Regions from separate parts of the Homo sapiens genome. Here all the other regions are linked to region 1. Evidence: promoter capture Hi-C in human tissues and cell types (Jung and others, 2019). All regions are on one chromosome and are shown on one strand. The core of a region is centred on a gene start or on the middle of the fragment in contact, and the rest is flanking DNA. Distances in the headings are between cores, read along the strand shown.

Region 1 (3,415 bases), core at 822-3,321:
GGCTACTTTTAAATTTTTTTGCAGAGACAGGGTCTTGCTATGTTTTCCAGGCTGGTCTTGAACTCTTGGCCTCAAGCAATCCTTCCACCTCAGCCTCCCAATGTGTTAGAATTTCAGGTGTGAGCCACTGTGCCCAGCACAAATCCAGATCTTTCTTCATCCTGTTTAATTTTAATGGGGGTAGGGTGGGAAGTGAGGACTGCTATCCAACTATAAATTAAATTAGAAGAAAAATTATGAACAGGCTTAAATTCTACTGGTATGTACACCAGACAGCAGTTGATCATTGGGACCGGAGAAAGGCTAATTTACAAATAGTACAGCAAATACTAGAATGTCATGATTTTAAAGGCAAAAGTACCATTTTTAAAACGAATTTGTTGAATGTGAATTTACCTTCAACATTTTTCCTCTTAACTATTACTTTGGTAGTGGTGAACTGGCTCTGGAAATTGACTTCTTTTTCCTTTTTTTTTTTTTTTTTGAGACAGAGTCTCCCTCTGTCACCCAGGCTGGAGTGCAATGGCGCGATCTCGGCTCACTGCAACCTCCGCCTCCCTAGTTCAAGCGATTCTCCTGCCTTAGCCCCCTGAGTAGCTGGGACTACAGGGGCACGCCATCACGCCCCGCTAATTTTGACCCCTTTTCAATTATAAAATGCTAACGTTGGAAGCCTCTACAGATTACCAAATCCAACTGTTTAAAAATTCTTCTGGCCGAGCATGGTAGTTCACACCTGTAATCCTGGCACTTTGGGAGGCTGAGGAGGGTGGACCACCTGAGGTCAGGAGTTCAAGACCAGCTTGACCAATACGGCGAAACCCCGTCTCTACTAAAAATACAAAAAATTAGCTGGGCATGGTGGCGGGCACCTGTAATAATCCCAGCTACTTGGGAGGCTGAAGCAGAAGAATTGCTTGAACTTGGGAAAGGCGGAGGTTGCAGTGAGCCGAGATCGCGCCATTGCACTCCAGCCTGGCAACAGAGTGAGACTCCATCTCAAAAAAAAAATCTTCTTGGCCTCATAATCCTTTGTTTAGATAAACTTGAAAACCCAATATGTAAACACACAAGCAGAACTGCACTGATTGACAGATACTAAACGGATCTAAATGATACCAAGGATGACAGAAACATCCTCATTTTACAGATGGAGAAACTTGTAGGGTTTGTGCTTTCCTCCCATCAAACCTTACCCTTTATTGTAATTATTCCCGCACTTGCCCGTCTCAGTAGTACAAGCAGTTTGCCAACTACTACTTGCACGAACAACTAGCAGTTTGCCACGGAGTCCTACATTCAGTTTGGGGATTCTCAGGCCTCACAGGGCGCTAAGGCCTTGCCTGGCCCCTTGGTGATCAGAAGCTTCGTGCAGCTCAAGAGCATCCCAAGACGCTTGACGGCTGACTTTCCTTCTCAGAACTTTAGTAACAGGGCGGCCAGTCCAGCCTGGGAACCGCAGGGCCCGAGCCCGACTCTCCCGGAGACCCGGGATCCGCCGCAGAGCAAAGCGCACGGGAGGGAAGGAGGGCACACGGCTCTAGTGTCTGACCTCCTCCGGCTCGCCCTACTGATCTAGGTCCCGCGCCGGGTCCCCACATCCCCGCAACCCGCCGAGAGGCCCGGGAGCCGGGACCGCTCCCACGCTCTGGCCCCCCAAGCCCCGCCCCCCTTACCGGCGTCAGAGCGCGCGGCGGTGAAGGCCGCGGCGGGCCCGCGCGTGAGCCCGGTCGCCGCCCCGAGGAGCAGCCAGGCGGCCGCCCGAACCGCCGCCACCCGAGCCGCCAGGACGCCGGAAGCCGGACGCCCGAGAGGGGCGCGCGGGGCCAGGTGCGGACGCAGGAAGGGGCCTGGCCGCCCGCAGCTCCTACCGCGCGCTGCCCCAGATTTATCGGCTGGGACCGAGTGCTGGGTGCGCGCGCCTAGCGCCCGCGGTTCCCAGCTGCCTGCAGCCCCGGCCCCCAAGGGTTCCCGCGCGGCGTGGGGCGGTCGTCCCCGCCCAGCTGTTCCTTGCTCCGCCCACCCGGGGGCGGGCGAGGAGCTGCGCACGCGCGGGGACGCGCGCCCGGCCTGTCGCTGTGGAAACCGCTAGGCCAGCGCTCGCCGGGACCTGGAATCCCTGTACGCCGAGGTGGGAGCCGGTGGACCGGTCCCCCAGCCGGCCCCCACCTCCGCTTCCCGGTGTTTGAGGGTTCGGGCCTCCCGCCGGGGAGTTCACCCCTCGGGCTCGTCAGTAGGGCTGTGGCTGTCGCCTCTTCCTGCAGCGCCAGGCTCCGCCCGGTCTCACAGTCGGCTTAGGGGCTTTGCGTGCACTGCGGTTGGGTGGAAAAACCCACTCCTGGTTGTTTAGACGTTGGCCTGCAGACGATGTCATTTCTGTATTCCTCTAAGGGTAAGAAAGCCAGCCTTGCACTAGTGGAGACGTGAGTAGGGAGAGAATCGTCTACTCTTTGGGGACATTCGTACCCTTAGGTGCTGTGGGGCTTCCTAACAAGATTGTGGGCAGTTACTGATCTCTGGGGAGAGGAGTATTCGTGTCCAGGAAGAATAATTGGATAAACGTGCCGTCCTTCTTCCTAAACAGAGTGGAATCTGTAAGCAGGCCAAGAGAGCATCCAGGCGGCTTGGAGTGGAATAGAGGGCTCTAGAGCGGGTGTCTCAAAGAGGAAACAGAGTGTATGTCAAAACATACTATCCAAAACTGAAAATAGCCGGGCAGGTGGCTCACGCCTATAGCCCCAGCACTTTGGGCGAATCACCTGAGGTCAGGAGTTCGAGACCAGCCTGGCCAAGATGGCGAAACCCCGTCTCTACTGAAAATACAAAGATTAGCTGGGCATGGTGGTAGGCACCTGTAATTCCAGCTACTCGGGAGGCTGAGGCACGAGAATCGCTTGAACCCAGGAGGCGGAGGTTGCAGCGAGGGGAGATCACGCCACTGCACTGCAGCCTAGGCGACAGAGGGAGACTCTGTTTCAAAAGAAAAAAAAAAACTGAAAATGGTAGTATAAGCATGTTTCTTAAGAAATGGAGAGAGAAATTTTGGAAGATATGCCTTTTAAAATTCAGTCTGGCTCCCTATGAAGAGGAGTAGGGCCAAGGACGATAGTTTGTTGTTATAAGCCTCATAGAATTATTTTATATTCCAAATACAAACATTACTTTAGCAAAAATTAAAGTTAAATTTTAAAAAGAGTCTAGTAAAAAAAAAACTACATTATTTGAGTACCAACTGCATACATCTTTGACGAGTACAGCCATTGCTTCAGTGTGTGGAGTTTATATGTGCCCCGTAGGTTGTAGTTTACTAACATCAAATTTTAGTTAGGTGAATTGGGAATAGTATTCGTTAAAAAAAAAAAAAAAGCAAGAAAAGAGAAGGAAAAGAAGGAGAAATGGTGTGAGCTCATTGCAT
Region 2 (3,680 bases), core at 870-3,369, 130 kb after region 1:
CAGGAAAGCGTGATTCATATTTAGGGGAAAAAAGCAATCAACAGAAGCTGAATCCAAGTGGTCCTAAGTGTTGGATTTGGTAAAGACTTCAAAGCAGCTGTTATGAATATGTCCAAAGATTTTTTTACAAATATAGTATAAGTAAATAAATAAGGAATCTCGAAAAGGAAATTTACTCTAAAAAAGAACCAGGCCCAGTGTGGTGGCTCACGCCTGTAATCCCAGTACTTTCACTTTGGGAGGCCGAGGCGGGCGGATCACGAGGTCAAGAGATCGAGACCATCCTGGCCAACATGGTGAAACCTCATCTCTACTAAAAATACAAAAATTAGCTGGGCATGGTGGCACACACCTGTAGTCCCAGCTACTCAGGAGGCTGAGGCAGAAGAATCACTTGAACCCGGGAGTCGGTGGCTGCAGTGAGCCCAGATCGTGCCACTGCACTCCAGCCTGACGACAGAGTGAGACTGTCTCAAAAAAAAAAAAAAAAAAAAAAAAAAAAGGAAAAAGAAAAAAAAGGAAATTCTAAAGCTGAAGTGTACAATAAGCAAAATTTACTAGCCCAGTTCAATAGCAGAGGTGAGATGGCAAAAGAAAAAAATTTATAACCTTGAAGACAGAACAGAAATTATCTAATTTAGGTCAAGCCCAGTGGTTCATGCCTATAATCCCAGCACTTTGGGAGACTGAGGCAGGCAGCTGCTTGAGCTCAGGAGTTTGAAACCAGCCTGGGCAAAATGGCAAAACCCTGTCTCTACAAAAAATACAAATATTAGCCAGGCATTGGTGGGGAGCACCTGTAGTCCCAGCTACTCTGGAGGCTGAGGTGGGATGATCACTTGAGCCTGGGAGGCAGAGGTTTCAGTGAGCCAAGATCATCACGCCACTGCACCACTGCACCACTCCAGCCGAGGTGTCAGAGCGAGACCCTATCTCAAAAAAAAAAAGGAAAAGAAATTATCTAATGCAAAGATTAGAGAGAAACAAGGTTGGGGGAAAAAACAAGAACATAGTTTTAGAGGCAGAGATAAGGACAACATCAAGCAATCCAACACTTACATTAAAGGTAAATGAACTAAACACTTAAAAGTCAGAGACCGAAGCTGGGCGCAGTGGCTCACAACCTGTAATCCCAGCAACTGGGAGGCCAAGGCAGGTGGATCACTTGAGGTTGGGAGTTCGAGACCAGCCTGACCAACATGGAGAAACCCCGTCTCGCCAGGCATGGTGGCTCATGCCTGTAATCCGAGCACTTTGGGAGGCTGAGGCAGGCGGATCACGAGGTCAGGAGTTCGAGACCAGCCTGGCCAACGTGGTGAAACCCCGTCTCTACTAAAAATACAAAAATTAGCTGGGTGTGGTGGCGCATGCCTGTAATCCCAGCTACCCAAGAGGCTGAGGTAGGAGAACTGCTTGAACCGGGACCCGGGAGGCAGAGGTTGCGGTGAGCTGAGATCATGCCATTGCACTCCAGCATGGGCAACAAGAGTGAAACTCTGTCTCAAAAGGAGAAAAAAAAAAAAAAGAAACCCCTTCTCTACTAAAAAAATATAAAATTAAATTAGCCGGGCGTGGTTTAGAGGCGCATGCCTCTAATCCCAGCTACTCGGGAGGCTGAGGCAGGAGAATCACTTGAACCTGGGAGGTGGAGGTTGCGGTGAGCCGAGATTGCGCCATTGCACTTCCAGCCTGGGCAACAAGAGTAAAACTCCGTCTCAAAAAAAAAAAGTCAGAGACAGAGACTGGGTTAGATAAAAATCAAGATCCAACTATGTGCTGTGTAGGAGCTCCACTTTAAATACAAAGACAGATTGACAGAGGATTACTAGAGTCAAAGGAAGTCATTTCATAATAAAAGAATAAATCAGGCAGGGAGATAAAACAATTAGAAATGTATATGCACCAGTAGTAACAGAGCTCCAAAATACATGAAGCAAACACTGAGAGAACTAAAAGAAGAAAGACAAATTAGCAAGGATAGATGGAGATTTCAATACTCCTCTTAGTAAATAATAGAAGGGTAGAAAAAAATCAGTAACACTATGTAAGACTTGAACATTATCAATCGACTTTGCCTAATTCTCATTTACAGAATATTCCATTCAGCAAAAGAATATACATTTTTTCAAGCACACATGGGACACTCATCCAGACAGACCACATATTAGAATAAAACAAATCTCAATAAATTTAAAAGGACTAAAACCATAGAGCATGTTCTCTGAAAAACAGACTTAAGGACTTTCACTTACAAAATCATTACAAGGGTGGCGACAGGACTTCGTTTTTAGTGATAAAGTCTACACACCCTTCTCCTTATAGTATCCGCAGAGCCTAAAAGGATAGTGAGGAAACATTCCATGAAAAAAATCCTTCCAGCTTTTATACCTCAGAAAATGGGATGTATTTTTGGTTCTTCTGCTTTAGTATGCCTGACTTGAGGTCATTACTGAGGCTGGAACTTTCACGCCACAGGTGGCTCTGAAATATGCAATCTATAGTTCTTTAAAGACTTCCAATTTCTTATCAGATTATTGTATATTACACCCTGTTAAGTCTGTAGTAATAAATACGGCTTTTACAAATAGGAACTATAATTTTAACTTGAGTCAAATGAGTATGCCTTAAGCCTAAGATGAAAAGAATAAAAAATACAGCAGTTTGCCTGAATTTGCCTGTCTCTGCAGAACTCACTGATGCCTCCAGGGGCTTTGAATCCACAAACATGTGCATGCACAGAGCTGTATTTACTGGGGTAAGGAGCCTAGAAAAAGATTTGGATGTGCCGTGATACAGGAAAGATGACCATCTAGAGCAGGGGTATTCAATCCTTTGGCTTCCCTGGGCCACACTGGAAGAATTGTTTTGGGCCACACATAAAATACACTAACACTAAAGATAGCTAATCAGCTTTAAAAAAAAAAATTGCAAAAAAATCTCATAATGTTTTAAGAAAGTTTATGAATTTGCATTGGGTCACAATCAAAGCCATCTTGGGCTGCATGCAGGCTGTGGGTTGGACAAGCTTGATATAGAGCATGAACTGGCAAACTACAGCCCCTGGACCAAATCTGTCCTGCAGCCCATAAATAAGGTCTATGGAATACAGCCATGTTCGTTCATTTACGTATTATCGATGACTGCTTTTGTACTATAAATAGAGTTGAAACTCGTGATAGATCCTTACCTTGAAAATGACATTAAAAAAAAAAAGTTGTGACAGAGACCATATGGACTGCAAAGACTTAAAGATTTACTACGTGGCCCTTACAAAAAGTTTGCCAACCCCTGATCTGGAGCAAAAATAGGCTGCTTAAAGTTGTATTAGGAAACAAATATTGAGATAGATCATTTATACATTTATTTAAAAATGGTCAAAAAATCTCCTTGAGGCTGGGCATGGTGGCTCACGCCTGTAATCCCAGCACTTTGGGAGGCCAAGGCAGGTGAATCACGAGGTTAGGAGTTCAAGACCAGCCTGGCCAAGATGGTGAAACCCTGTCTCTACTAAAAATACAAAAATTAGCCAGGCATGGTGGTGGGCGCCTGTAATCCCAACTACTGAGGCTGAGGCAGAGAATTGCTTGAACCTGGGAGGTGCAGGTTGCAGTGAGCCGAGTTGGCGCCACTGCACTCTAGCCTGGGCAACGGAGTGAGATTCTGTCTAAAAAAAAAAAAAG
Region 3 (3,564 bases), core at 193-2,692, 160 kb after region 1:
TAGCTGGGATTACATGGGTTTGCCACTACACCTGGCTAATTTTTTTTGTTGTTGTTTTCAAGATGGAGTTGTACTCTGTCACCCAGGCTGGAATGCAGTGGCACCATCTCGGCTCACTGCAACCTCCATCTCCCAGGTTCAAGCAGTTCTCGTGCCTCAGCCTCCCGAGTAGCTGGGATTACAGGTGCCCGCCACCATGCCCAGCTAATTTGTATTTTTAGTAGAGATGGGGTTTCACCATGTTGGCCAGGCTTGTCTTGAACTCCTGACCTCAAGTAATCCACCCACCTCGGACTCCCAAAGTGTTGGGATTGCAGGTATGAGCCACTGCGCCTGGCCAATTTTTGTATTTTTAATAGAGATGGGGTTTCACCATGTTGGCCAGGCTGGTCTTGAACTCTTGACCTCAGGTGATCCGCCCACCCTGGCCTACCAAATTATTTCACATTTCATGTACCCTCTCCAAATTACAATCAGTTTGTGGTCCTGGATGCACAAACTTGAGGCTGATACAGGGCCACCCAACCACTCCTTGCCAAGGGCAGAAATACTTTTCAGGATTAATCAGTCACATTCTGGCAGAATCGTGTAGTTCTGGTGCCATCAGCCTATGACCAGCTCTCCCTTGACCACAATTTTCCTATTTACAAGGAAAGAATTAGTGAAAAACAGTAATGCACAGCACATATGTTTTGTATGTATGTATGTGTGTGTGTCTTGTTTGCTGAACTATTTGAAAGTGAGGTACCTTGACACTTTGTATTAGTCTGTTTTCATGCTGCTGATAAAGACATACCTGAGTCTGGATAATTTATACAGGAAAAAAGTTTAATGGACTTACAGATCCACGTGGTTAGGGAGGCCTTACAATCATGGTGCAAGGCAAGGAGGAGCAAGTCATGTCTTACATGGATGGCGGCAGGCAACCCGAGAGAGAGCTTGTGCAGGGAAACTCCCCCTTATAGAACCATCAGATCTTGTGAGACTTAATTCACTATCATGAAAACAGCATGGGAAAGACCTGTCCCCATGATTTAATTACCTCCCACTGGGTCCCTCCTACAACATGTGGGAATTCAAGATGAAATTTGGGTAAAGACACAGCCAAACCATATCATTTCACCCTCAGCCCCTCCCAAATCTCATGTCCTCACATTTCAAACCCAATCATGCTTTCCCAACAGTCCCCCAAAGTCTTATTTCAGCATTAACTCAAAAATCCACAGTCCAAAGTCTCACCTGAGACAAGGCAAGTCCCTTCCTCTATAAGCCTGTAAAATCAAAAGCAAGTTAGTTACTTCCTAGATACAATGGGGGTACAGGCATTGGGTAAATACAGCTGTTCAAAATGGGAAAAATTGGCCAAAACAAAGGGGCTACAGTCCCCATACAAGTCCAAAATCCAGCAGGGCAGTCAAATCTTAAAACTCCAGAGTGATCTGTTTTGACTCTCTGTCTCACATCCAGGTCACACTGGTGCAAGAGGTGGGTTCCCATGGTCTTGGGCAGCTCTGCCCCTGTGTGCTTTGCAGGGTGCAGCCTCCCAGCTGCTTTCACAGGCTGGTGTTGAGTATCTGTGGCTTTTCCAGGTGAATGATGCAAGCTATCAGTGAAGCTACCATTTTGGGGTCTGGAGGATGGTGGCCCTCTTCTCACAGCTCCACCTGAAGGTGCCCCTGTAGGGACTCTGTGTGGAGACTCCTACCCCACATTTCCCTTCCACACTGCCCTAGCAGAGGTTCTCCATGAGGGCCCCACCCCTGCAGCAAACTTCTGCCTGGACATCCAGGTGTGTCCATACATCTTCTGAAATCTAGGCAGAGTTTCCCAAACCCCAGTTCTTGACTTCTGTGCACTCACAGGCTCAACACTATGTGGAAGCTGCCAAGGCTTTGGGCTTGCACTCTCTGAAGCCACAGCCCAAGCTCTATGTTGGCCCCTTTTAGCCATGGCTGGATTGGCTGTGACACGGCACCAAGTCCCTAGGCTGCACACAGCAGGGGGACCCTGGGCCTGACCCACTAAACCATTTTTTCCTCCTAGGCCTTAGGACCTGTGATGGGAAGGGTTGCCATGAAGACTTCTGACATGCCCTGGAGACATTTTCCCCATTGTCTTGTGGATTAACATTTGGCTTCTTCTTAACTTATGCAAGTTTCTGCAGCTGGCTTGAATTTCTCCTCAGAAAATGGGATTTTCTTTTCTATTGCATTGTCAGGCTGCAAATTTTCCAAATTTTTATTCTGTTTCCCTTTTAAAACTGAATGCTGGCTGGGTGTGGTGGCTCATACCTGTAAACCCAGCACTTTGGGAGGCCGGGGCAGGCAGATCACAAGATCAGGAGATGGAGACCATCCTGGCTAACACGGTGAAACCCTGTCTCTACTAAAAATACAAAAACAAAATTAGCTGGGCATGGTGGTGGGCGCCTGTAGTCCCAGCTACTCAGGAGGCTGAGGCAGGAGAATGGCATGAACCCTGGAGGTGGAGCTTGCAGTGAGCTGAGATCGCACCACTGCACTCCAGCCTGGGCGACAGAGCAAGACTCCATATCAAAAAAAAAAAAAAAAACCTGAATGCTTTTAACAGCACCAAAATTACCTCTTTAATGCTTTGCTGCTTAGAAATTTCTTCTGCCAGATACCCTAAATCATCTCTCTCAAGTTCAAAGTTCCACAGAGCTCTAAGGCAGGGGCAAAATGCCACCATTCTCTTTGCTAAAACATAGCAAGAGTCACCTTTACTCCAGTTCCCAACGAGTTCCTCATCTTCATCTGCAACCACTTCAGCCTCGATTTCATTGTCCATATCATTATAAGCATGTTGGTCAAAGCCATTCAACAAGTCTCTAGGGAATTCCAAACTTTTCCACATTTTCCTGTCTTCTTCTGAGCTCCCCAAACTGTTCCAACCTCTGCCTGTTACCCAGTTCCAAAGTCGCTTCCACATTTTCAGGTATCTTTTCAATACCACTCTACTGGTACCAATTTACTGTATTAGTTCGTTTTCATGCTGCTGATAAAGACATACCCAAGACTTGGTAATTTATGCAGGAAAAAGGATTTAATAGATGTACAGTTCCACATGGCTGGGAGGCCTCACAATCATGGTGGAAGGCAAGGAGGAGCAAGTCACATCTTAAATGGATGGCAGCAGGCAAAGAGAGAGCTTGTACAGGGAAACTCCCCCTTATATTACTAGTGGAAACAAGAATATAACAGCCTCCCCAAGTGCTCTTACAGGCATGAGCAACCATGCCCAGCCGGAACAAACTTAAATTCAACAATTACATATTTTTGGATTTTAAAAACTGCCTTATTGAGGTATAGTTCACATGCCGTACAATTTATCCACTTAAAGTATACAAATCTACTTCTCTACAAAGTTCACAGAAGAAATAAAGTATAAAAGTCAGTGGTGTTTTTTTTTTTTTTTTAGACCGTGTCTCAGTCTGTTGCCAGGCTGGAGTGCAGTGGCATGATCTCGGCTCACTGCAACCTCTGCCTCCCAGGTTCAAGCCATTCTCCTGCCTCAGCCTCCCAAGTAGCTGGGATTACACTTGCC
Region 4 (3,384 bases), core at 519-3,018, 220 kb before region 1:
GTTATGATATGGACAAATTCAAGTCAGTCTCCAATGTGGCTTACTAATAACCTCCAGTGAGACATGGATGACACCCACACTTCACTCTTGATCCCTGGAAGGTGGTTCTTCCTAATGATAACATCTGAACATGCAGAAACTACTGCTCCTCAGCAATAAAGGGGAGGGAAAGTACTCCGTTGCTCGTACCTAGCATCATATACACATACAGGAACTGCCATCTCTCCCCTCTCAACCCAACAGACTCAATTCACACATTGTAAGTTCCGAAAAGCAAGTGTTTCTTTACCTGGAGCACAAAGACTCCACAGTCACTGTCGTTTTTCTGTTGTGGAATACACTGAAGGGAAAAACAAAATAGTCATTAAAACAAGATCCATTACTTCTCTTCAGATAAGAAAAACTCCTTTATGGAAAAATGCGCAAAAGATAGGAAACTTTTCTCTCTCCAGGACAGCTGGTATATCTGATATCTCAAGCATCTAATTTTATGGAGGCACCTGGCCACATAAAAAGAGCTATCAGGTGGCAACCCCAATTTATAGGACAATGTTTTACCTAAATATGAGAAATGGGAAATCAAATGTAAAAACCTGTTTTAAAACATGCATTTGGATACTGAGCTCTGCTATCAATTCATTGACAGTGGAGTCAAAATGGAACTGTGCCTGGGAGAACAAAGGCCCAGCCTCTGGATGCTAGGATGGCGACAACTCCGCTGAGCAGTCTTCACTTCTGATCTCACATCACACGACCCTGTCCTATTCTTTGAAAGAAATCGTGAAGGTAAACAGTATGGTTTTTGTTTTGGGTTTTTCGCGACAGGGTCTCACTCTGTCGCCCAGGCTGGAGTGCAGTGGCACGATCTCAGTCTCCTGAGTTCAAGCAATCCTCCCACCTCAGCATCCCAAGTAGCTGGGACTACGCCTGGCTAATTTTATTATTTGTAGAGATGAGGTCTCACCATGTTGCCCAGGCTGGTCTTGAACTCCTAGACTCACGCAATCCACGCACCTTTGCCTCCCAAAGTGCTGGGATTACAGGTGTGAGCCACTGTGCCCGGCCAACAGTATGTTTTTAAAAGAACTGGTTACTGTATTCTGCTCAAAGCGGTAATACAGAAGATCCTGACTAAATTTAGAATACCCAGATTTTTTAGTTGGGTAAATTCAGGAAATTTACTAGTTCTGGTTTGAACTGGTATACTAGGTTATTCAAAACACAAAACTTAAGCTTAATTTTAAAATTTAGCATTTGGTTCGGTTCAAGGGTGAACTAATAAATCTTGTCTCTTTGGGTTTGGGTTAAAGGTTTGTTTCAAGATCCTGCCTATAACATCCTGTCAATGATCCAGACAGACCTGTGTTCAAGGACCTGACTCTGTATCAATAGTTTTGATGTCCTTTGGGGAAAATCACACCTGGGCTTCAGTTTTCTCATTTACAAAATAAAGACGATGCTTATCCCTAAATGACCTGCCTACCTCACAGGTTATAAGGATCAAATGAGATCCAATACACAAAAACACTGGAAACAACACAGCCCACCATCAATGAAGACACTGGTATTTACGACAGGAATGAGCGGCTGTGCCTGGGCACTCTGCCCCACAGTTTGAATGTCATGGGCCAAGCATGGTGCTGCATCCAGACAGTGGTGGGACTGAAGCGCTTGGGCTACTATCTTCCCCACATGCCTGCCAAGTAGCTCAATGCACTTTCTCCCCCTCAGTGGATCCAAATAGTCATTTCAGCATTTCTCTGGGTCTATATGGGTCATCTGGAAATAAGAGCCATGATGCAAGAGGCAAGTGCCACCCAAAAAAGATTTTTTTTTTCCCCAGAAGAGCAAACACATCATTAGCAACTTCCTCAGGGAGGAAATGACTGAAGTGATTTGCTCCCGGGAAGCACTGGGCAACTGAGCAGCGATGATGAATAGTCAACTGAAGTTCATTCTCAGCTGCCTCCCTGGAGCCTCCAGGCTCTCCTTGGTATCTCTGTCACTAGTCTTCAAATGCTCTTAAAGGCACCCACCCTTAGATAATTCCATCCCCTGGACATGCCTGGGTTTCATTGTTATCACATACTTACCTTCGTAACAGCAGTCTGCCAACCCTGAAGAAATTCAGGTCTATTTTTTTCTCTGGCTTCAGTCAGCAAATACTTTCTTATATTCTGGTTAAAAAGAAACCACAACACAGATGCTGTGTTCCATCAGTTGGTGAAAAATGGAACATGCCCATAGCAGACAGAAGGAAAGGAGGAGGCTGTGGCCCCATAACTGGGCAGAATATGCATTAAGAAGCTGGAACAATTTTTTTTTTTTTTTTTTTTAAAGAGAGGATCTTGCTCTGTCACCCAGGCTGGAGTACAATGGCGTGATCATAGCTCACTGCAGCCTTGAACTCCTAGGCTTCAGAGATCCTCCTACCTCAGCCTTCCAAGTAGCTGGGACTATAGGTGTACACCACCGCTCCCGGCTAAAGCCGGGACTTTATTTCAGACTCTTCATTTCATATTGTTAAGGGGGAGTCAGACCTTCTGTATTCAAGGTATGCATCAAGACTGTGGACGCTGGCATTTGTGTAATCAGAACGTTTTATGAGATGGTTAGCCAGCCCTTCCCAGCAGTAAGTCAGCTTGCTGCATTTGAAACTTACATACTGGCAAGTCAAAAAGAAAGTCTTCATCATTGCCCATGCTCAACAGAGGAAAGGAACCCATGGCAGACATCATTAATAACTAAAACTAAATGAAAAATATTCCAGCCTTAGATATTCTGATACACTCCTTATTTTTGAGGGCTGCAGAAAAGGTTAACATTCAGCTTCTGGAAAGTAATACTAAAATTCCTTCTGAATACTAAATATGCTCAAGTCCACTGTTGAACTATCTACCAAGATGAAGCCTGCTGGAGTTTCAAAATGTCCCCAGTGCTCTCAACCTCTGTGCGTCTCTCTCCACATCAAGAGTGAAGTCAGAGGTTATGTGAATAACCCACCCCACCCCCCAACAAAAGTGGACCAGGGCCAGACGCGGTGGCTCACACCTGTAATCCCAGCACTTTGGGTGGCTGAGGCAGGTGGATCACATGAGGTGAGGTCAGGAGTTCAAGATCAGCCTGACCAACATGGTGAAACCCCATTTCTACTAAAAATACAAAAATTAGCCAGGTGTGGTGGTGCACACCTGTAATCCCAGCTACTCCAGAGGCTGAGACATGAGAATCGCTTGAACCCAGGAGGCGGAGGTTGCCATGAGCCAAGACTGGGCCACTGCACTCCAACCCAGGGGACAGAGTGAGACTCTGACTCAAAAAAAAAAAAAAAAAGGTGGACTGGAAGCCACCTCTTCAGAAGAAAAAACATGATGAAAGCAAATA
Region 5 (3,518 bases), core at 134-2,633, 170 kb before region 1:
CCCAGAATGCTAGCAGTCTGTCTCACCCATACAAGCAGACTGAAGATTCTTTTCTGGAGACTATAACTAGTCCACCAAAAAAAAAAAAAAAATCCATAAAGATACAGATATTACCCCACAAAATGGCCCACAGTGTACCCCAAAGTTGACACATTCCACCATGTGTTAAGAGTTCCCAAGCAGTTTCTTAGTGGTCATTATTAAAAACAACTAGACGGGCTGGGCATGGTGGCTCACGCCTGTAATCCCAATACTTCGGGAGGCCAAGGTGGGCAGAGCACTTGAGGTCAGGAGTTCGAGACCAGCCTGGCCAACATGGCAAAACCCCATCTCTATTAAAAATACAAAAATTAGCTGGGCATGGTGGTGCATGCCTGTAATCCCAGCTACTTGGGAGGCTGAGGCACAGGAATTGCCTGAACCTGGGAGGCAGAGGTTGTGGTGAACTGAGATCGCACCACTGCAGTCTAGCCTGGGCGACAGAGCAAGACTCTGTCTCAAAAAAATAAAATAAAAAATAAAGGATGACCAAGAATCACCAGATGTCTAGGGATAAAAACAGACCAAAACAAACAGATAAAAGCAAAAACTATATAAAGTCAACTTTTATAAACCAACAGGGAGGGGGAGAAAAGGGAGTTATTGCTTAATGGGTACAGAATTTCAGTTTGGGAAGATAAAAAGGTTCCTGGAGATGAATGGTGGTGATGGTTGCACAGCAATGCGAATGTACTTTAATGCCAATGAACTGTACACCTAAAAATGGTCAAAATAGTAAATTTTATGTTATGTATATTTTACCACAATTAAAAAAAAAGAGGGGGCTGAGTGTGGTGGCTCACACCTATAATCCCAGCACTTTGGGAGGCCAAGACAGGCGGATCACTTGAGGTCAGGAGTTCGAGACCAACCTGGCCAACAAGGTAAAACCCCAACCCTACTAAAAATACAAAAAAATTAGCCAGGTGTGGTGGCACGTGCTTGTAATCCCAGCTACTCGGGAGGCTGAGACACGAGAATTGCTTGAACCTGGGAGTTCTGAAGGCTGCAGTGAGCCAAAATTGAGCCACTGCACTCCAGCCTGGGTGACAGACCAAGACTGTCTCAAAAAAAAAAAAAAAAAACTAATACTATCTCAAAGAAGCAAAAGCAAATATTACATCCATTGAAAAAAAAGAACAGGGTGTTATTCTTTTTCTAAAGGAATGGCCAAAAACAAGAAAGGGGTCTTGAAAATTAAAAATAATAGCAGAAATTAAAAACTCAATTAAGCTTGGAAGTTAAAAAAAATAATAAATGAACAAAATGAAAAGACAGCTGATAAATTAGAAAAAAATATTTGCAACATGTATCATAAAGGCCTAATATCCCTAATATATAGACCTCTTAAATTAAGAGATAACTGAAAAAAAGCCTAATGGAAAATAGGAAAAATACATAAGGAGACAATTTACAAATAAAGCTTTTTAAATGTTCCTTAAGCTTAAGAAAGATGTCCAAATTCATTTATAAGACAATTGGCAAAAATTATAACACATTCTCTTGGTGGGGAAGAAGGGCCTTTCCACACTTTGTTAGGAGGACTACAAATTGATCCAATCTTTTTGGAGGGTAATCTGGTAACATTTAATAACTACAAAAGTATTTACCTTTTAATCCAGCAACCCCACTTTAAGGAATTTACCTGAAGACATGCCTACAATAATACAAATATACACATGTACAAGGCTATTCATTGCAGCATTGTTTATAATAGCAAAATATTAAAAACAACCAGCAGGGAACTGTGGCTCAGCCTACAATCTCACACTTTGGGAGGCTGAGATGGGTGGACTGTTTGAGCCCAGGAGTTTGAGACCACTCTGGGCAACATGATGAAACCCCATCTCTACAAAGAAATATAAAAATTAGCCAAGTGTGGTGGCATGTGCCTGTGGTCCCAGCTACTCAGAAGGCTGAGGTGGGTGGATCAACTGAGCCCAGGAGTTTGTGGTTGCAGTGAGCTGAGATTGCACCATGGCACTCTAGCCTGGGCAACAGAGTGATGTCCTATCTCAAAAAAAAAATAAAAAAGGAAAAGGGCCAGGCGCGGTGGCTCATGCCTGTAATCCCAACACTTTGGGAGGCCGAGGTGGGCAGATCACCTGAGGTCGCGAGTTCGAGACCAGTCTGGCCAACACGGTGAAACCCTGTCTCTACTAAAAATACAAACATTAGCCGGGCACGGTGGCACATACCTGTAATCCAGCTACTCGGGAGACTGAGGCAGGAGAATTGCTTGAACCCAGGAGGCGCAGGTGACAGTGAGCCGAAATCACGCCATTGCACTCCAGCCTGGGGTACAAAAGCAAAACTCCGTCTCAAAAAAAAAAAAAAAAAAAAGAATAACTGGCTAATACTCTTCAATCACATCAGTCAAAGTCCTGAAAGACAAAGACAGACTGTCCTAGAATGAAAGACTGAGATTAAGGAGACGACAATTAAACAAGGTATAATCCTGGATTGAGTCTCAGTTCAGAAAAAGAAAAGTCATGTGACAACTGACAAAATTGGAATAAGGTGTGCAGATCAGTTAGCAGTATTCTCTCAACGTTAATTGCCTGGCCTTGACAATGTGCTGCAGTTCTATAACATTGGAGAGGCCAGGTACAGTGGTGCACACCTGTAGACCCACCTACGTGGGAGGCGGAGACAGAAGGATTGTTTGAGCCCAAGAGTTCAAGATCAGCCTGGGCAACATAGCAAGACTCTGTCTCCTTAAAAAAACTGAAGTAAGGTTGGGCACAGTGGCTCATGCCTGTGATCCCAGCACTTTGGGAGGCTGAGGTGGGTGGATCAACTAAGGTCAGGAGTTCAAGACCAGCCTGGCCAACATAGAGAAACCCTGTCTCTACCAAAAATACAAAAATTAGCCAGGCACGGTGGCATGAACCTGTAATCCCAGCTACTCGGGAGGCTGAGGCAGGAGAATCACTTGAACCCAGGAGGCAGAAGTTGCAGTGAGCCGAGATCACGCCACTGCACTCCAGCCTGGGCAACAGAGTGAGACCATGTCTTCAAACAAACAAAAAAAACTGAAACAAAACTTCGGAGCAAAGCTAGGTGAAGCATATAGAAAAACTGTAATATTTTGCAATTTTTTTCGGTAAATTTGAAGTTATTTCGAAGTTAAAAGTAAAACATTAAAACATTTAAAATTTTGAGCAATCTCCCAGAAAGTACCACAAAATGACAGACTGAAACTAACATAACAACTAACAAAAAAGGTTTACAGAGATGTAAGTTATCAAAATATTTACCTCCCATGCATCCTTCTCAGAGAGTCACAGGAGAAGGTACTCTGGCAAATATGGGAGTAAGTCAAGAATACACAGGATGCAGGAAATGAGATCCAAAAACAAGAGTCAGGCAAAAAGAATACTAAAGATAACAGTAAAAATAGATGCAGAATGACAATGTGCCTTAAGCCTGGAGGGCCACCAATCCAGAAGGGAGCGGTCAAAAGTCAGTCAAAAGGC
Region 6 (3,524 bases), core at 119-2,618, 190 kb after region 1:
GGGAGCCACCGCGCCTGGCTAATTTTTGTGTTTTTAGTAGAGACGGGGTTTCACCATATTGGCCAGGCTAGTTTCGAACTCCTGTACTCTAGGGATCTGCCTACTTCAGCCTCCCAAAGTGCTGGGATTACAGGCATAAGCCACTGCCCAGCCAAGATGGCACTTTTGACAACATCTGTTTGTCCAGATCAGCAATGAGTCAGCAATTGACTTCTACAGAAGTTTGGCTTTGAGATGACTGAGACAAAGACAGATAAAGGATAAGAGGATGGAGCCTGCAGATGCTCAGGAGTTGCAGAAAAACCTCAAAGTCCCTTCCGATCAGAATGGAGATATGCAAAACACAACTGAACAAGTCACAAAATGAACCTTCTTGCACTTGCTTGTTGACAAAAAAAGACAAGCCCATTGATTTTCACCCCCTCTTTCTTGTAAAGCTTTCCTGCACTGCCATGTTTTTGTTTTTCCTTCTTTCTTTTCTTTTCAAAGTTTTAATACTTTCAAGGACTTTAAAAATGATCATGTTTGGGCCAGGCGCAGTGACTCACTCCTGTAATCCCAGCACTTTGGGAGGCCAAGGTGGGTGGATCACTTGAGGTCAGGAGTTCCAGACGAGCCTGGCCAACATGGTGAAACCCCATCTGTACTAAAAATACAAAAATTAGCCAGGCGTGGTGGCGTGTGCCTGTAGTCCCAAGCTACTCAGGAGCCTGAGACAGGGGAATCGCTTGAACCTGGGAGGCAGAGGTTGCAGTGAGCCGAGATCGTGCCACTGCACTCCAGCCTGGGCCACAGAGCAAGACTCCATCTCAAAAAAAAAAAAAAAAAAAAAAAAAAAAAAAAGATCATGTTTGGATTGTTTCAGTTCTCTTATTTTTGTGAGGTGGTTTGACTGAAGGCAGGAGAAGGTAGATCTGTTTAATTTCACAGTTAAGATAAATGGTTCTAAAAATTTAGGTGTCAAATAATTTCACATTTCTTAGCTTGGAGTTGGAGACCAGCCTGGGCAACATAGCAAGACTCTGTCTCTATTTTTTTTTTTTGGAGACGGAGTCTCACACTGTTGCCCAGGCTGGAATGCAATGGCGAGATCTCAGCTCACTGCAACCTCCGCCTTCTGGGTTCAAATGATTCTCCTGCTTCAGCCTCCTGAGTAGCTGGGACTACAGGCGCCTGCCACCACGTCCGGCTAATTTTGGTATTTTCTTAGTAGAGACAGGGTTTCACCATGTTGGCCAGATGGTCTTGATTTCTTGACTTCATGATCCGCCTGCCTCGGCCTCCCAAAGTGCTGGGATTACAGGCGTGAGCCACCGAGCCTGGCCCTCTTAGTTGTTTTTTCTTAGTCCTGCTTTCACATCGAAGGGCAGAGCCTACAAAATATTGTACATTTCAAAAGACAGAAAGAAGCAGCAGTGATATCTTGTTTTCTAATTCATAGACGAGTTTAGTGTGCTTGTGGTACCTTGGGCTTTGAAAGCCTTTGTGGGATACCAATCCCTAGACATTATCTTCACTCCAGCTTTAGTCCTTCCGAGCACTCTCAGGAGTAGCACCGTTGCTATCTCTGGAAGAAATGCTGAGCATATTTATTATTATTATTATTATTTTGGAGACAGAGTCTTGCTCTGTCGCCCAGGCTGGAGTGCAGTGGCGGATCTCGGCTCATTGCAAGCTCCGTCTCCTGAGTTTAGGCGATTCTCCTGCCTTAGCCTCCCGAGGTAGCTGGGACTACAGGCACGCGCCACCACGCCCGGCTAATTTTTGTGTTTTTAGTAGAAAGAGGGTTTCACCATGTTGGCCAGGCTAGTCTTGAACTCCCGACCTCAGGTAATCTGCCTGCCTTGGCCTCCCAAAGTGCTGAGACTACAGGGGTGAGCCACGGCGCCTGGCCGCATATTTTGATTTTTAAAGCAATTATTTCTTCTCTTCTTGCTGGTGGGTGGGGCACCTTGGGTACGTAGTGTTATACTTTGGTCTAAGTATTTTGAGTTAAACTGCTTTTTTGCTAAAATGAATGGGCTGGTTTTTATCAGGTTTATTTTTCCTGCTGTTGTTACTAATGGCATTAACTTTTAGAGTCGGAAGCGGTAAGACTGATTTTTTAAAATATCCCAGAGATATGGCTTCTAATTGACCTAGAGATTTGTCGTAATTTAACTTTTTTCTCCTGCCCCTTTTCTTCAGTAAATCCAACAATAACCCAGGTGTGGTGGCTCATGTCTGTAATCCCAACACTTTGGGAGGCCAAGGCGGGTGAATCACTTGAGCCCAGGAATTGGAGACCAGCCAGGACAACATAGTAAGATGCCTGTCTGTACATAAAAATTAAAACAAAAAAAAATTAGCTGGGCGTGGTGGTGCATACCTGTAGTCCCAGCTACTTGGGAGGCTAAGGAAGGAGAATCACTTGAGCCCACGAGGTCGAGGCTGCAGTATGCCGTGATCATGCCACTGCACTCCAGCCTGGGCAACAGAGTGAGACCCTGTTTCTAAAAAAGAAAATGTTGGCCGGGTGCAGTGGCTCACGCCTGTAATCGCAGCACTTTGGGAGTCTGAAGACCAGCCTGGGCAACATGGTGAAACCTCATCTGTACAAAAAAAATTTTTAAGTCCATATAGGTTATTACCGCTAAATAAACGGAAGCAGGTGTTTTCTCTTGGACATACTGAAAATATTTAAAAGAAAGCTTAGATGGCAGCATGAGCATGAAGAACCAAGAAAGCATACTTGGAGTCAGTGCAAATGTTAGCTACCTTTCCTTTGCTTAATTCTAGTGCTCGAGTAAGAGCTATCAGCTCAGCTAATTGAGTGCTTGGACGGAGAGACACACTTTCAATGACGTCATTTAGAGTGACTACTGCATATCCTGCCTTATGGATTCCTTGTTCTACAAAAGAGCTCCCATCTGTGAAGAGGGTCCAGTGTGGGTTCTCTAGCGGTTTCCCTGAGATCTTCCCTGGCTGCATAGGTCTGTATCAGGACTTGTTCACAGTCATGTTCAGGTTCCCTAGTTTCCTTGGGGAGGAAAGTGGCTGGATTTAGGCGAGAACAATTTTTTTGTTTTTGGTTTTGTTTTTGTTTTTTTTGAGACGGAGTCTCACTCTGTCGCCAGGCTGGAGTGCAGTGGCACAATCTCAGCTCAATGCAACCTCCACCTCCTGGGTTCAAGTGATTTTCCTGCCTCAGCCTCCCGAGTAGCTGGGACTACAGGCATGCACCACCACCATGCCTGGCTAATTTTTATGTATTTAGTAGAGATGGGGTTTCACTATGTTGGCCAGGCTGATCTTGAACTCCTGACCTCATGATCCACCCACCTCGGCCCCCTAAAGTGCTGGGATTACAGGCGTGAGCCACTGCACAAGTTTTTAATTGGATGTTGGAACCCTCTAACAGCAGGGCCTGATAGTTAAGGAGTCGACTGTTTGTTAGCCAAAGGCTCCCCCTAGAGTACAGTAGTCCTGCCATGTTATGTGGGGTGTAAACAGTTAAATCATTTCCCAGGGTTAATTTGGGGGCT
Region 7 (3,749 bases), core at 1,250-3,749, 240 kb before region 1:
GAACTTGGAAGTGGGGACTTCATATCTCCTTCCCGAGTGGTGACACTGACCTTCTGGGTAATGCTAATAAACCACCAGTCTCTTTGATGTATCCCTGCTTGGACCAACAATACAGGTCATTCAGAATGAGAGCTGTGTTGGACTTCCCATGGGAACACTTTTATTAGAGTTAGGCTTCCCCAGTGTTTGGCAAGAGCTTCCATAGGGCTGTGATCTGAGATCATGAAACTTCTCTTCTGTAGATTCAAGAGAGGGGTAAGGGAACCCAGACCTGGGACACTCACTCATCTGTTAGGCGGTGTGGGACACATCATGAGGCTGGTTGCCTGGCCCATACCGTCTCGCCCAAAGGCCTTGAGGCCTTTCAGATGTGATGGGCATGTGGGGTCATCCTCATAGTTCAAGACGGCTGCTTGAGCTCCAGCCATCAAGCCTACAGGCAGTCTTTCCAGCCAACAAAGGAGAAGGGCATTACTTCTCTCTTTAAGGTCATATTTTGAAGGGCGCATGCTTTTTGCTCATTTCTATCACACTGGGCAGAATGTATCATGAGGCCACACCTAGCTGCAAAGGAAGCTAAAAATTATAGTCTTTATATCTGACCAAGTGCCCAGAAAAAGAGTCAAAGGAGTCAGATGCAGTGGCTCACGCCTGTAATCCCAGCACTCTGGGAGGCTGAGGCAGGTGGATCACCTGAGGTCAGGAGTTTGAGACCAGTCTGGCCAAAATGATGAAACCCCATCTCTATTAAAAATACAAAACATTAGCCTGGCATGGTGGCAGGCGCCTGTAATCCCAGCTACTTGGGAGGCTGAGGCAGGAGAATTGCTTGAACCCAGGAGGTGGAGGTTGTAGTGAGCCAAGATTGTGCCACTGCACTTCAGCCTGGGCAACAGAGCGAGACTCCATCTCAAAAAAAGAAAAAAAAAAGTCTAATGAAGGAGGAGGGAATAGATATTTTGGAGGCATCAGCTTTCTTTGCCACAGGGCTCAACAGGTGAATTTGTTTTTTAAGTTAAAAGGCTCATCTTCTTTCCCTCACGTCGTTTTTTAACCAGAAAAGCAGCCAGATAGATTTGATCCTGGATTTTGCTTCCCTTTCAACATCTAACATAGATAGATAAAACAGCTGAAAGTCTGGAGAAATAAGTAGCAGAATCAAAGAGCCCGAATGATCCGCAGGCTGTATGATCAGCTCGAAACAGCCAGCAGGTGATCAAGCAAGAGACGCTGTGAACAATGAGGCTTGGAGTGGAGCTGCTCCCGCGCCCCCACCCCTCAGAGCTCTGGGACGTTGGGGCACAGGGTTACAGAACAGGCAGCAAGTATTTCTTAAATTATGTAAGTACTACTTGGATATATTCTTCTTACAAAAAATTTAAGTATCATAGGCAGGGTGCAGTGGCTCACGCCTGTAATCCCAGCACTTCAGGAGGCTGAGGCGGGTGGATCACCTGAGGTCAGGGGTTCAAGACCATCCTGGCCAACATGGCGAAACCCCATCTCTACTGAAAATACAAAAATCAGCCAGGCACAGTGGCGGGCGCCTGTAGTCCCAGCTACTTGGAGGCTGAGGCAGGAGAATCACTTGAACCCCAGAGGCAGAGGTTGCAGTGAGCCAAGATAGCGCCACTGGACTCTAGCATGCGTGACAGAGTGAGACTCTGTCTAAAAAAAAAAAAATTTAAGTATTGTAAACAAAACTAACATAAATCACCTCTGACATAACCCTGATGGCTCATCACCTACCCCTCTTCTCTCCCCCCATCTCCTGATAACAATCATTATCAGAGATGCGGCTCTGTCAAGCTTGACAGGTGTAAGGACAAGGGTGCTTGTCCTTGGCTTTTGAGATCTTGGAACCCTGAGAAGAGGTTAGGCCTCCCCCACCTGCCCGCCTCCCACACACTCTTCCCAGGACACACTGCCACCTCATCTCCCGGGGAAGCCCCTCCTGCCCTCTGCACTCTGAGCTCCCCTGCACTTGCTTCTGCTGCTCCTGACAAATCCTCAAAATCCTACGAGCAGCTCAAACTGCACCCGTCTGTGAGTTCACAGTTCTGTCCATCAGAAGGGCAGCACGGGCTCTCTGCTCACAAGGTGGACATCAGCGTATGGACTGGGCTGAGTTCTTGTCTGGAAGCTCTCTAATTCTAGCAGAATCTAGTTCATTTCAGCTGTGGAACCTATGGTGCGGCTTCCTTGCTCTTAGCTTTCAGAGGCCACCCACATTCCTAGCCAATGGCCTCTTCCGTCTTGAAGCCAGCAGTGGCATGTCAAATCCTTCTCATGCTTTGAATCTCACTGCCACTTCTGCGTCCAGCTGGTGAAAACTCTGTTATTAAAAGATTGTTGTGATTAGGTCCGGCCCACTGCATAGTCTCCCTATTTTACAGTCAGTGCTCCTGTATAAGTAACCTAATCTCAGGATACAGTCCATCCTGCGGGCCAGGTGCAGTGGCTCAAACCTGTAATCCCAGCACATTAGGAGGCTGTGCTGGAAGAATGGATTGAAGCCAGGAGTCTGAGATCAGCCTGAGTAACATAGCGAGAGCTGTGATCTCGCCACCGCACTCCAGCCTGGGTGACAGAGATGAACGAAGCGAAGGAAGGGGAAGGAAGGGAAGGGAAGGAAGGAAGGGAAGGAAGGGAAGGGAGGGGAGGGAAAGAGAAGTAAAGGGAAGGAAGGGAAGGGAGGGGAGGGGAAGGGAAGGAAGGGAGGGGAGGGGAAGGAAGGGAAGTAAAGGGAAGGAAGGGAAGGGAGGGGAGGGGAAGGGAAGGAAGGGGAAGGAAGGGAAGGAAGGAAGGGAAGGAAGGGAAAGAAGGAGGGAGAGAGGGAGGGAAGGGAGGAAAAATCCAGCCCGTGCACAGTCCCAGGGATTACGCAGGGCACACACACCAAGGGGTGGGAAATGTGGGGTGCCCTCCTAGAATTTTGCCCACTACATCCCTGAGCTTGGTACTGGCTCACCTCTGCCTCTCTCTGCAGAGGACATCCTGGGCGTTCAGGCCGCGCGGCCCTGGGAGTTTTACCCCAGCAGCTCCTGCCGCTCGGTGCTCTTCCCCCTGCTGATCTCTGGTTCCACCTTCTGGCTGCTCAGGCTCTGGGAGGAGCTGGGGCCGTGGCCTGGCCTGGTGAGCGGCTATGCGCTGCTGGTGGGGCCTCGACTCCTCCTCACTGCCCTTTCCTTTGCTCTGGACGGGGCCGTGTACCACCTGGCCCCGCCGATGGGGGCGGATCGCTGGAACGCCCTGGCCCTGCTGTCTGGTTCCTACGTCACCCTGGTCTTCTACACAAGGACCTTCTCCAACACCATTGAGGGACTCCTCTTCACGTGGCTGCTGGTGCTGGTATCCTCCCATGTAACGTGGGGCCCTACACGCAAGGAGCCGGCGCCGGGTCCACGGTGGCGCAGCTGGCTTCTTGGAGGCATTGTGGCTGCTGGCTTCTTCAACCGGCCCACCTTTCTGGCCTTTGCTGTGGTCCCCCTCTACCTCTGGGGCACTCGTGGAGCCACAAACCCTGGTTTGAAGTCTCTGACCCGGGAGGCCCTGGTGCTGCTCCCTGGGGCAGCCCTCACAGCAGCGGTGTTTGTGGCCACGGACAGCTGGTATTTCTCCAGCCCCGCTACATCCAGGAACCTTGTCCTGACACCTGTCAACTTCTTGCACTACAACCTGAATCCCCAAAACCTGGCGAGACATGGCACGCACGCGCGGCTCACTCACCTGGCAGTCAACGGCTTCCT

Evidence for each region. Contacts are between HindIII fragments. The study calls those that stand out against the background at their distance.
Region 2: a fragment that was not itself captured here is called in contact with the fragment with the promoter of CEP19 in region 1 in 1 of the 25 tissues and cell types used here (spleen).
Region 3: a fragment that was not itself captured here is called in contact with the fragment with the promoter of CEP19 in region 1 in 1 of the 25 tissues and cell types used here (lymphoblastoid cells).
Region 4: a contact is called between a fragment that was not itself captured here and the fragment with the promoter of CEP19 in region 1, in 2 of the 25 tissues and cell types used here (IMR-90 fibroblasts and dorsolateral prefrontal cortex).
Region 5: a fragment that was not itself captured here is called in contact with the fragment with the promoter of CEP19 in region 1 in 1 of the 25 tissues and cell types used here (liver).
Region 6: a contact is called between a fragment that was not itself captured here and the fragment with the promoter of CEP19 in region 1, in 1 of the 25 tissues and cell types used here (lymphoblastoid cells).
Region 7: a contact is called between a fragment that was not itself captured here and the fragment with the promoter of CEP19 in region 1, in 2 of the 25 tissues and cell types used here (dorsolateral prefrontal cortex and lymphoblastoid cells).

The regions. Positions count from the first base shown.
Region 1 is chr3:196,710,906-196,714,320 of GRCh38, reverse strand. It overlaps CEP19 (centrosomal protein 19), which reads left to right and starts at 2,071. Exons shown (of 3, transcript NM_032898.5): 1 at 2,071-2,392. PIGX (phosphatidylinositol glycan anchor biosynthesis class X) reads right to left here and starts at 1,944. Exons shown (of 6, transcript NM_017861.4): 1 at 1,677-1,944. The coding sequence starts at 1,788. RefSeq lists silencers at 1,545-2,174, 2,009-2,321. The HindIII fragment of the contact is 13,108 bases long and covers 1-3,415 here.
Region 2 is chr3:196,578,046-196,581,725 of GRCh38, reverse strand. The region is part of intron 2 of FBXO45 (F-box protein 45); the gene reads right to left. Among named protein-coding and RNA genes, the nearest start is that of FBXO45, 11 kb to the right of the region's middle. The HindIII fragment of the contact is 3,487 bases long and covers 376-3,680 here.
Region 3 is chr3:196,547,725-196,551,288 of GRCh38, reverse strand. No RefSeq gene overlaps it. Among named protein-coding and RNA genes, the nearest start is that of WDR53, 19 kb to the left of the region's middle. The HindIII fragment of the contact is 5,845 bases long and covers 1-3,564 here.
Region 4 is chr3:196,926,589-196,929,972 of GRCh38, reverse strand. It overlaps SENP5 (SUMO specific peptidase 5), which reads right to left. Exons shown (of 10, transcript NM_152699.5): 8 at 2,094-2,177; 9 at 290-340. Among named protein-coding and RNA genes, the nearest start is that of NCBP2-AS1, 12 kb to the left of the region's middle. The HindIII fragment of the contact is 3,553 bases long and covers 1-3,384 here.
Region 5 is chr3:196,879,503-196,883,020 of GRCh38, reverse strand. All of the region lies in intron 1 of SENP5 (SUMO specific peptidase 5), which reads right to left. Among named protein-coding and RNA genes, the nearest start is that of SENP5, 13 kb to the right of the region's middle. The HindIII fragment of the contact is 5,535 bases long and covers 1-3,518 here.
Region 6 is chr3:196,524,660-196,528,183 of GRCh38, reverse strand. It overlaps the pseudogene NAA50P2. Among named protein-coding and RNA genes, the nearest start is that of SMCO1, 11 kb to the right of the region's middle. RefSeq lists an enhancer at 197-266. The HindIII fragment of the contact is 4,673 bases long and covers 1-3,524 here.
Region 7 is chr3:196,947,926-196,951,674 of GRCh38, reverse strand. PIGZ (phosphatidylinositol glycan anchor biosynthesis class Z (Gwada blood group)) reads left to right here. Exons shown (of 3, transcript NM_025163.4): 3 at 2,990-3,749. Among named protein-coding and RNA genes, the nearest start is that of NCBP2AS2, 7.1 kb to the right of the region's middle. RefSeq lists a silencer at 23-317 and an enhancer at 2,844-3,591. The HindIII fragment of the contact is 5,138 bases long and covers 1-3,749 here.